Linked DNA regions of Homo sapiens: region 2 is linked to region 1. The links are contacts of gene promoters, found by promoter capture Hi-C in blood cells and fetal thymus (Javierre and others, 2016). All regions are on one chromosome and are shown on one strand. Each heading gives the region's core, a stretch centred on a gene start or on the middle of the fragment in contact. The rest is flanking DNA. Distances are from core to core; before and after follow the strand shown.

Region 1 (5,563 bases), core at 1,134-3,633:
GTTGTCTAAGAGTCTTAACTGATATCCCTTTCAGGAAATATCAAAATCCTTAAATAAAAGGCCATTTTAAAATTAATCGTAATATAACTAAACTCTGTTAAATTTTCAAAGAATTCCAGTTTAAATCCCAGTTTATAATGTCCTTAACAGGCTGAAATCTCTTTTCTGATCAAAACCAAGTGCTATCATGTAAAATCAAAACTTTTTAAGTTATAAGCATAGGAAGCCAGTGAATTTAGGCCAAAGGTTTTTATTTTTTTATTTTGTAACCATACACTGACTTGGGTTACAACGTATTTCTTATAATTCTTTTGAAAATAAATACATTTTCGTTATTTTTTAAAGGAATAGAAATGGAAGGAGCTGGGAACAGCCAATTTCAAAGAGGCACCAAGTTACAATTTTTCGATATGAAGTACTTCTGTTGTAAGTACATGCACTGTGTGTACATTCTTAAGAATATGTAATATACTTAGTCGATTTAAGATAGTTACCAAAATAACCCACTACAAAAGTTACAGAATACCAAACACTTGACTACAAGTATGATAAATTATGCTGAAAAGGAAAAATCACTCAGTATGTGACATCCCTTTGAAAACAACCCCACGTGCACACACACACACACACACACACACGCATGCAAAAATCAAAAACTATCAGTTTCTTTTTTTCCCTCCTAGTTTTCAAGAATGCTAGAGAAGTCCAGTTCTGTGAATTATGCAAAGGACAGCAAACATTAAGCTGCCTCCATATTTATGCTACTGTACTTCCATTTTTAAAACAAGCATCTCAACTCCCCAGACACCATCATCCACAGAAACCATGCAGCTATCCAACAGACTTTCAGTGTCACCATTTATTATTTATAGCGTTAAATGGGGGAAGTGGCTCTGATGTCACCAACCCTACCCAGTGGAATCACTGACTCAATAAACATTTTCACACTGAAGAAAATCTGGCTAGGAAAACATTTTGCTGGGTTAAGTAGATTCTTCCACCTCTCCTCTCAACCCTGGGGAAGAAGTTGTTACCGTGTTAGGAAAGATACAAAGAAACTGTCAAGGCTTCCATAGGAAGAAATCCTGGACATGTCCATTTGCTGATGCAGACTTCCTCTTCCCAGCTCTCCAGAGCCCAATTTGATTTCCCTCATGTTCACGTTGGCAGGTAATATCTGCCATATTTTATTTCTTCCACCAAATCATCCATCAATTAGCAAATTCTTCACTTCTAGCCACTCTCTCACTGTCCTGTTCCTAAAAACCCCTTCTGGTTTCAAATCCTAAAGCTTCGGAGGAGGGTGGAGGGTGTCCACGGACCGGGAGTCTGGCCTGGCTGCCAGTGGTTTCTAACAGAAGAGTGGTCGCTTCCCCCGGGGGCCAAGGATTCCCCTCTTTTTTTTTTCTTTCTGAGAAGAAAGACCTCGCGGCAGTGATGAGGATGGCTCCCTCCCCAGTCATCTCCAATTTCCCAAAGCAGCTCTGGAAAACGTGAAGTTGCGCCTTCTCTTTCCTGGAGGATGGAATCCAGAGTACCTGGGCCCTTGCTATGCAAACATCCCTCTCCGCCGGGTAGGAAACCCTTTGTCCGAGAAGCCGGACACCACAAGGGCCCGGGAAAGAGGCCTCCTTATCCGCCACAGCCTCAAACCCGAAAGCTCCCTGCCCCCCCAGCTCTGTAGGGCCTATCCTGGCATCCACACAGACCTAGGCTGGGGAGTGGGTGCTGAGACCTCTCCTAGGACGCGGAGGCCCAGGCGGCCCCAACCCATCTCCGTACTCCTTCCCACCATCTCACTCGGCCTGAGTGGGGCTTGCAAGCGCGGTGCGGGCCTGGGCCGAAACAGAGGAAAGAAAAAAAAATCCCTTTCTAAAAGAAGGAGAATGGGGTGCTAGAGCGAGTGCGACCTAAGTCTACAGCATAAACGAGCGAGGGTCGTCCGAGAGCTGGGACCGGAGACGGGACCAGGGGGAGGGGGAGAAGCGAGGGGCATGGAGGGGGCCGGGCCAGGACCGGCCGGAGATGTCGAGGGATCAGAGGAGCCCGCGCCAGGTCCGAGGCCAGGGAAGGCTGGGGGCCCGGGTCTGGGTCGAGGCGTCTGGGAAGGGCCAGAGCCGGCCTCGCACCGGACGTTGAGGTGGGCAGGCCCGCCCGGGGCCGGACGGACGGAAGCACAGACGGTCCAGCGGGCCGCACTCACCATGAGCTCGATGGTCTTGTCCTCAATCACCGAGTCGGGCTCCATGGCGGCCCCGGCGGCCCCGCCTCGCTCTCCCCGCGCAGCAGCGAACGGCCCGGGCGGAGGAGGCGACGGCGGAGGCGGCAGAGGCGGAGGCGGCTATCGCACCCACTCTAGCTGCCAGCCCGCCCGGGCCGCCGGCAGCTCCGCCCTCCCCCTCGGCGAACGCAGTACGCAGATCGGGGACTACACCTCCCAGCAGGCGCCGCGGCCCGCAGAGCGTTGTGGGACCGAGCCTCTGACACCAGGTTGCTGGCTCTTGGCAGCCCGAAGCTGAACTCCGAGCTGAGAGTAGCACTGGACGGTGGGCGTAGGACGTGCAGACCTGAAGAGTTAAGAGCTTGCTCATGGCAGGGCCTCGAGAGCGCCACGACTACGTGTCCCAGAAAGCCGTGCGCCCGGGTTGTCCTTCCGGCTAGCTTCTCTTGACTTCCTGGCAGCCCAAGGCTGCCCAGACCGGGACGGAAACTCCGAGGCAACTCCTCACTTGTCGGAGGTCCTGCGTATGCGACCCATTTCCGCACATGCGCGGTCCATGCCGCAGTGCTCCCTAGACGCCTAGGTAGCTGCGCGGCCCGTCCGGCAGTGTCTGATGGTAGGGGCAGATGGTGGAGACAGGTGGGTTCTAGGTGCGTTAGGAAGGTGTATAGACCTGGGGCTCAGGTGTGGGAAGGGGCCAGCGAGTGAGAGAAGCTCGGCCTGGGGAAGAGGCTCTGAGAGGATGGGCATCCCAGGAGTGAGAGTTTCGAGATTTCTTCGGGAAAGACGGGGTTTTGGGAAATGTGCTGTGGTGCTGTCTGTATGTCACACGATCTGCGAGGAGCTGCGAGATTAAAGGGGACGTGCGTATATCGAGCCCCTCATTCATTCGTTCAGAAAATGGTTATTTTTTAAGCATCCAGCTTCCGCTGCGTACCGTTCTAGGCGCTGAGAATCAGCTCTGAACATGACAGACAAGGCTCCTGTTCTCATGGAGCTTAATTCTGGTGGAGGGACGACAGACACTAACCAAAAGAGTGGCTAAGAAGGAACACACAAGCGGAGACTCCTTCTAGTGAACTCAGCCTCCAACTCTGTGTAACTTAGGTCTGTCCGTGCCCTCTAACCAAATCCCACCAGGAAGACACGGATCGTTGAACAAGCTGGGTTTATTACTAGTTGCAGTGACTGAGAACACACATTGAGGAACGATAGGGCCTCTCGGTAAGAGTTGTTAGTGATTTGGGAGAGGGTTTAAGGAAGTGAGAGCTTCACTGGATTAGATACTGTCAGGAAGAGAGGGTCGTTCCATGATTGAGCATCTCAGTTCATCTTATCTAGAGGAAGGGAATTCTAGATTGAGGCTAAAGCTGTGCAGATAAAGAAACAGCAGCCTGGCCGGGCGCAGTGGCTCACGCCTGTAATCCCAGCACTTTGGTAAACCGAGGCAGGCGAATTGCTTGAGCGCAGGAGTTCCAGACCAGCCTGGGCAACATGGCGAAACTCTTCTCTACAAAAAATACAAAAATGAACCGGGCCTGGTGGTGCGCGCCTGTCATCTCAGTTACTTGGGAGGCAGAGGTGGGACGATCGCTTGAGCCCAGGAAGTGGAGGTTTCAGTGAATGGAGATCGCACCACTCCACTGTACCCTGAGTGATAGAGCCAGACCTTGTCTCAAAAACGAAAAAAAAAAAAAAAAGTGCAGCAGCAGCTCCCTCATATTAGCCAAGTGGGGATGTTGAGTCATTTTTTGTGGTTTGGACAATCATCAGGTTTTATCTTTTTATCGTGTTTAGACCTGATTATAGAGTGGTCTTGTATTTGTCTGGATCTATCATGGTCACAGAATGACCTCGTCTGATGTTGATGTTCTTTGGAATTGTTTTTGTTCTACAGGAAAACACAAAGCCTAGCTATAAGGGCCAGGCTGTGGTCTAGTAACATCATGGCATGGCTGATTGTACCAGGCCAGCTTCCAGATATCAGAGGCTGCTTTTCACTTTCTCAAAGTGTTTTTGCATTCTCTGCACCTATAAAGTCAAAGAGGCTGGATGACCTAGAAATCTTTCCATTACCAAGGACCAAGTTACAGTAATTTGCATGCATTCAGGACACAGTATAAGTTCCCTGCAGGTAGACTTTGAAGTTTCATAGTCCTTACCTGGTGCTTTTCACCAAGGGAATTGAAAGAAAAGCAATAGGAAGAGCACAGAATTGGAAAGTTCTTACCACTGTCATGCTATCTGAATTTCACCAGGTCCGTTCCACTATGGCCCTTAGGACATTCATTAGTAAAACAAAGGGATTAGATATGACCTCTATTTCAGTTACCTGTTGCAACACAACAAACCTCCGAAGACTTAGTAGCTTAGAATAACAATGGTTTATTATGATTTTACAATTGTGTGGGCTGACCCGGGCTCAGCCGGGGCCCACATGCAATCAGCTGGGAACTCATTCAAAATGACTTTTCATCTTCTAGGGCCTCTCCTCCCTGTGGCTTTTTATCATTCAAACGTCTGCATAGTGACTTGAGAAAGGACAAGCCCCAGTGAACAAATGCTTATCAAACCTCTGGTATGCACCACACTTGGTAATGTCCCGTTGGCCAAAACTAGTAGTATGGCCACACCCATAGTCAGTGTGGGAAAGGATTGTACAGGGGCATAAAAACAGGCATGGGGTAGGAGTCACAAGCTGGATGTGACCCTCCCCCCGCCGACCCGGCACATACATATGTTTGTCCTATACCGTCTTTTTTACTGTTTTTAAAATTTGATGTTCAGGTTTTCAAAATCTGAATTTCCAGCTTTTCTTGAAAAATTAGAATATCTGACAATTAGATCTACATGGCAACAATATGCAGGGGTTAAATAGCAACTACCTTTATTTAAGCATATATTCTATGGTTTTCCACAGTTGCCATCACTCCTTTTTGCCTTGTATCTGCATGCTTCACTCATTTAAGTTGCATCCCTAACCTGTATAGATATTTGAGTTTGCATCCCCTGGCATTGGAACTGTAGTGGAGATAAATCAAGGTTTCTGTCCTTTTATTAAAATCGTATACCTGGGAGCATAGGGAGGGGCTACCATCTCTGTGGCTGCACCATGATCTACAAAAAAAAAAAAAGAAAATTGTATGCTGCCTTAAAAGGAAAAAAGTACTAATATTATTAGGTCAAATTCCAGGAGCTCAGTGGGGTTAAAAGCTCATACATAGGAATTAGCCAAGTATGATGGCTCACGCTTGTGGCTGCAACTACTCAGGAGGCTGAGGTGGGAGGATCACTTGAGCCTGAGAGGTCAAGGGTGCAGTGAGCCATGATTGCACCACTGTA
Region 2 (5,563 bases), core at 1,476-3,975, 950 kb after region 1:
AGGCTGAGGCAGGTGGATTGCTTGAGGTCATGAGTTCAAGACCAGCCTAACCAACATGGTGAAACCCTGTCTCTACTAAAAATACAAAAATTAGCCAGGCGTGGTGGCATACGCCTGTAGTCCCAGCTACTCAGGAGGCTGAGGCAGGAGAATCACTTGAACCCGGGAGGTGGAGGTTGCAGTGAGCCAAAACTGCACCACTGCACTCCAGCCTGGGCGACAGAGCGAGACTCTATCTCGAAAAAAAAAAAAAATCCTGACACCAAACCAATGAGGTAAGTACTATCATTATTCCCATTTTTCAGATGGGAATAAACTGAGTGACCAAGAGGCTGAATATCTTCTCCAAAGCCAAAGAACCAGGCAGTGGCAGAGATCCAAACCCAAGCGATTTGGGTGCCAGGGCTCAAGCACTTCCCCATGCAGCCACTGCCTCGAGAAATAAAAAGACTCACCAGACACTTCCTCTGTGCTAGGTGCTTTGAGTTCCTGCGCATGTTTCCAGGGGTGGGCATGAGACAAGACAGCCAGTCTCACTACATTGTTAGAATGACAGCCTCCAGCTCTTGTCATCCAGGATATCATTGTGCCTGTTTTAATTTTACTGAACCACACAGCATGTTAAAAACAAAACAAAACAAAGCAAAAAGCCTTCCCTGCTCTGCTTGATCATGGATACTCCTTGATGATCTTGGGTTCTCAAGATCTGTCTTTACATGGCTTTCCTTCACCAGTGAGGCTCTGAACTTCTTGGGAGCACTCCTCCCCAGATCTCTTTAATCAAGACCTGTACCTGGCTCCATGTAGGTACCAAATAAATTGATGAGCAAATGAATGAATGTATGAGTAAATAAGTGGGTGAATGACAATAAATGGATATGTGATAGAGAAATGAGTGAATAAACAGAACCAGTGAGTGAGTGAGTGAATGAATGAGTGAATGAATGAATGAACTCCTTGGGGCAGGGCATGGGTTTGACTAACACCTAAGGACTATTCTAAGAAGAACCTCTGACCTTTACTGTGTGTGCGCCGTTATGCCAGCGTCTGCTCCTGGGTTGCCGATAGGTAATGACTTCCTTTCTTAGGACTGCCCCCCAACCTCCTTATTCTTGGAGCCTGGGCACACGCACAGCTGGGTGGCCCTTCAGCTGATACTGCCTTAACTGCTTTAACTCTGCCTGCTGTGCTGTCCAGGCTTCTGCAAATAGCCCAGGTGTGGCCATCCTCCAGAGGCCTCCAACATTAACTGTGAAGGGCCCGGAATAAAACCTAGTATTAGTAGGCCAGGCGCAGTGGCTCACGCCTGTAATCCCAGTACTTTGGGAGGCCGAGGCGGGAGAATCACCTGAGGTCGGGAGTTCAAGACCAGCCTGACCAACATGGAGAAACCCCGTCTCTACTAAAAATACAAAATTAGCCGGGCGTGGTGGCGCATACCTGTAATCCCAGATACTGGGGAGGCTGAGGCAGGAGAATCGCTTGAACTTGGGAGGCGGAGGTTGCGGTGAGCCGAGATGGTGCCACTGCACTGCAGCCCAGGGAACAAGAGCGAAACTCTATCTCAAAAAAAAAAAAAAAAAAAATCTAGTATTAGTAAACGCAGGTGTTTAACAATGTCACCACTACATGTCAGGGAACACTGATAAACTAAGAGAGAGCACGGGACCTGCCTGGGTGTGGCTGCTGTACTTGCAAGACATCTTCCCTCTCTGAGTTTCAGCATGCCGGCATTTGGCACTAAGTTGTCGTTCAACATATATGGAATGAATGAACGAAAGGGAGAGTTGGAGTTAATAACACCTTGCATAGAATAAACCCCGTCGGTTCTTAACCCGAAGAGAGTCGAGACCCAGAGCCCTTTTCCTTCCCTGCCGCCACGGTGCCCACGGAGGGGGCGTGGTTGATCTCCCTCACAGCTCCGTCGGGACCAGAGACCCGGGGACCTTTTACACCCAGGGTCCGCGCAAAGTGTCGGCCTAGCCAGTGGTTGGGTGGCGCCCGGGCCTCCAGGCAGTCTTCCAGGGGTCGGCGAACGAAACGCGGAGCTCGGGAGCGACCCGGCGGGGCCAGGCACGGGCAGAAGGGCCAAGAGGGCCACAGGTGGGCGCGGAGCGGCCGGAGTGGGCGGGGACTGGATGAGAGGGGCGGGGTCTAGGAGAGAGGGGCGGGGCGGCGGCCACAAACCCGCAGGCACGCCGCCGGCCGCCGTTTAGTCCCAGAGATAGAAAAAAGTAGAGGTAGGAGGGCGCGGCGGCTCACGCCTGTAATCCCAGCACTTTGGAAGGCCGAGGCGGGCGGATCACGAGGTCAGGAAATCGAGACCATCCTGGCTAACAGGGTGAAACCCCGTCTCTACTAAAAATACAAAAAATTAGCCGGGCGTGGTGGGGGGCGCCTGTAGTCCCAGCTACTCGGGAGGCTGAGGCAGGAGAATGGCGTGAACCCGGGAGGCGGAGCTTGCAGTGAGCCGAGCTCGCGCCACTGCACTCCAGTCTGGGCGACAGAGCGAGACTCCGTCTCAAAAAAAAAAAAAAGAACACCAGTAAGCCTCTACCGCAGGCCCTACACAAGCAGGCCCTTGTACTCACTGGCATCGCCCTCCCGGGGCCGCCAGGAATGAGGCACTGAGATCCCACCCCAAGCCGCTGGGGGCGCCATTCGACTTCGCTCCTACGGAAATGGGGCTTCGATGTCTTTCTGCGCTTGCGCGGCACGGAAACTCACTTCCGGCCCTGCGCACTCAGGGTCTGAGGCAGCTAGTAGCCGGGTGAGTGGAGGCTGGAGTTTTCTCGGACAGTGAACTCTACCGCCCCGTGAGACCCTGCCCTATGTGTCGCGGGAACACATGTCACCCCACAGCTCTCTTTGAGTGACCTCCCGACCACCCATTCCTGCCTAACCCTAGCATTCCTTCCTCAGCCTCAAGGTCCCAGTGCTACCCTCTCCCCCACGACCCCTTTAGACGGGCATGCGACCTCCACACACGCCTCACTTTATGTGATAGTCAGACTAGTCGCATCTCTCTGTCCTCCCTCAGTTGCCTTTTCAGAGGCTACCTCCCCTGTAGAGCCTTTGTTGGGGGATGAGGAGTGTCTTGGGTCGAGAACAGGCCCCTGTAACCCACTGAGCGCCCCTTCATTCCGTCTCTCTCCGCCCTTTGTAGAGGGTCACCATGAAGTTCAATCCCTTCGTTACCTCGGACCGCAGTAAAAACCGCAAACGTCACTTCAATGCCCCCTCACACGTGCGCAGGAAGATCATGTCATCCCCGCTCTCCAAGGAGCTGCGGCAGAAGTACAATGTCCGCTCCATGCCCATCCGCAAGGACGACGAGGTCCAGGTACGTCTCCCTCCGGCGCTAGTGGCGCTCGGACACCGTTGCCTAAGAACGTCATGCGTGGAGCAGTCACAGACTCACATGCCTCAGGACTCTGGAAAGTAGTGTGACCCTTCAGATGTGTTAGGCCAGAGATAGGGTTCAGAGCCACCAGAGAGTGCCTGCGTTGCTTTAGAGCATTTAATTATTTAATAGTAATAGTAAAATTTAATAAAACAGTATGTCAACCAAGCAAAAACCTGCTTTTTTGTTTGTTTTGTAGAGATAGGGTCTTGCTATGTTGCCCAGGCTGGTCTCTGAACTCCTGGCCTCAAGTGATCCTCCCACCTCAGCCTCCCAAAGCACTGGGATTACAAGTGTGAGCCACCGTGCCCCACCAAAAATACTTTTGATTTAACCTTCTGGCTGCTAGTTTGCCAAGTGTTGTTGCCCAGGGTGGCTTGTTGAACCAGACTGTAGGGGAAGGTGCTGCAGTGAGAGTAGTGTTTTAGTGTATTTGGGTGTAGTGGGATTGATGGACAGAGATTTGTGGGAGCTGGCCATGTGATAGCATTGGATTTGGCAGGAGAACTGGTAAAGATGCAGCGAGTCACTCTTTCATAATTTCTAAAAGACTGGCCCATGTGAGAACGTACAAGCCCTCTGTTCTCTGTGATTGGAGCTTAGAATGCATGAGAGGAGGGAAGGGAGTTGGATATGAGTGAAATAAGCAGGGGCTAGATTCATTCCTCAAAGGAATATTTATGGAGCACTTACCAGAGATTGTTCTAGGACAAGATTGACGAGGCCCTTGTTCTCATGGAGATCACGTTTTAGAGCAGGGTTTCCTAGCCTCAGCTCTATTGATATGTTGGACTGGATAATTGTTGTGGGGGGTGGGGGGTGGGGGCTGTCCTGTGCATTGTAGAATGTTTAGCAGCGTCCCTGGCCTCTCCCCACTAGATGCCAGTGGCACTCCCTCCCTTCACAGTTGTGACAAGCAAAAATATTTCCAGATATTGCCAAATGCTCCCTGGGGGGCAAAATCAACTCTTCCCTCACTCAGTTAAGAGCTATTGTCTTAGAGAATGAAATGACATAAGGTGATGAGGCTTGGTGTATCATCTGAGACACTGGGACTCTTTGAAGGTTTGGGGATATGTTAAGGAGGAAAAAATGTGGAGTTAAGCCGGAAGTGTGACAGGAAGAGTGGAAAGAGTAGTTCAGAGGTATGATCAGCAGTTTCAACCCCCTCTCTCCTGGATCCTTCCCATCAGACATGTTCTAGAATGGGGGAATTGCAAATACTTATAGGGGATAGGTAGGGATAGAAAATGGCAAACTGGAAAGCTCAAGCCTCACATATAAGATATAATCATCTACCTTTAGCCCATTGATGCCTGGGGGAAATGCAGGCCCATTGTTAGATTCTTGGATTTTCAAAGAGAGCTGGAAAATTTGGATTCACTTCCCTAGCCCACATTTCCTTCCAGCTACTACACTTTGTTCTCTATTCATAACCAACCTCCTCAAGAGAGCTGTCTACACTTCCTCATCTCCCATTCACTCTTGGATTCTCTTCAGTCTATTCCCTGTCCCCACTACATTATAGAACCTACTTTGACGTAGATCACTAATAATCCCTTCGTGACTGAATCCAGTGGACACATCTAGCATCTCTTTCTGCTCTGTGTTCTCTACGTAGGTAAAGAATAGGTAATAATCCGTTCTTAGAGCTTTAAATGTCTGCTGTGTGCTAACAACTCCCTCTTTTATATCCCAGTCCAGACCACTTTAGACAACCTGTATATCTGACTACCTATAACACAGACCTATAGATCTGACTACCTACTGAACATCTCTATTTAGGTAGCCCATTGACATTTCAAGCTTCTTAAGAGTACTCTTGATCCTAACACTCTCACTGCCTCCAGAATCCAACTCTACTCCCATCTTCCACATCTCCAGTAAGTGCCATTTATATCTCCCCAGCTGCATATGCCCCTAAACCTTTGTTATCTTTAACAACGCTCCTTAACCCCCTCTTGTAATCTACCATCAAGGCTTGTTGATTCTACCTCCAAAGTAAGTCTTGAACCTATTTCCTGTCCAGTTCAAGGCAGCATTGCAGTTCCCTCTTTTACCTTTGTCCATTTTCCACAGAGTGGTATTATTTGCAAATCAGGTCCTATTTAAAACCTTTGGCAGGCTGGGCATGATGGCTCACGCCTGTAATCCTAGCAG

Evidence for each region. The method cuts DNA at HindIII sites, captures the fragments that hold promoters and counts their contacts. A CHiCAGO score of 5 or more calls a contact.
Region 2: the fragment with the promoter of RPL26L1 here is called in contact with the fragment with the promoter of FBXW11 in region 1 in 4 of 17 cell types (monocytes, non-activated CD4 T cells, total CD4 T cells and 1 more); the score reaches 7.2 in monocytes.

Annotation. Positions count from the first base shown.
Region 1 is chr5:172,004,255-172,009,817 of GRCh38, forward strand. It overlaps FBXW11 (F-box and WD repeat domain containing 11), which reads right to left and starts at 2,384. Exons shown (of 14, transcript NM_001378974.1): 1 at 2,204-2,384. The coding sequence starts at 2,248. RefSeq lists enhancers at 1,549-1,668, 2,268-2,895, 2,439-2,708, 4,151-4,778 and silencers at 2,009-2,118, 2,129-2,408. The HindIII fragment of the contact is 14,963 bases long and covers 1,290-5,563 here.
Region 2 is chr5:172,956,699-172,962,261 of GRCh38, forward strand. RPL26L1 (ribosomal protein L26 like 1) reads left to right here and starts at 2,726. Exons shown (of 4, transcript NM_016093.4): 1 at 2,726-2,770; 2 at 3,167-3,343. The coding sequence starts at 3,176. It overlaps RPL26L1-AS1 (RPL26L1 antisense RNA 1), which reads right to left and starts at 2,670. Exons shown (of 4, transcript NR_026682.1): 1 at 2,592-2,670; 2 at 1,441-1,559; 3 at 456-604. The HindIII fragment of the contact is 11,810 bases long and covers 1-5,207 here.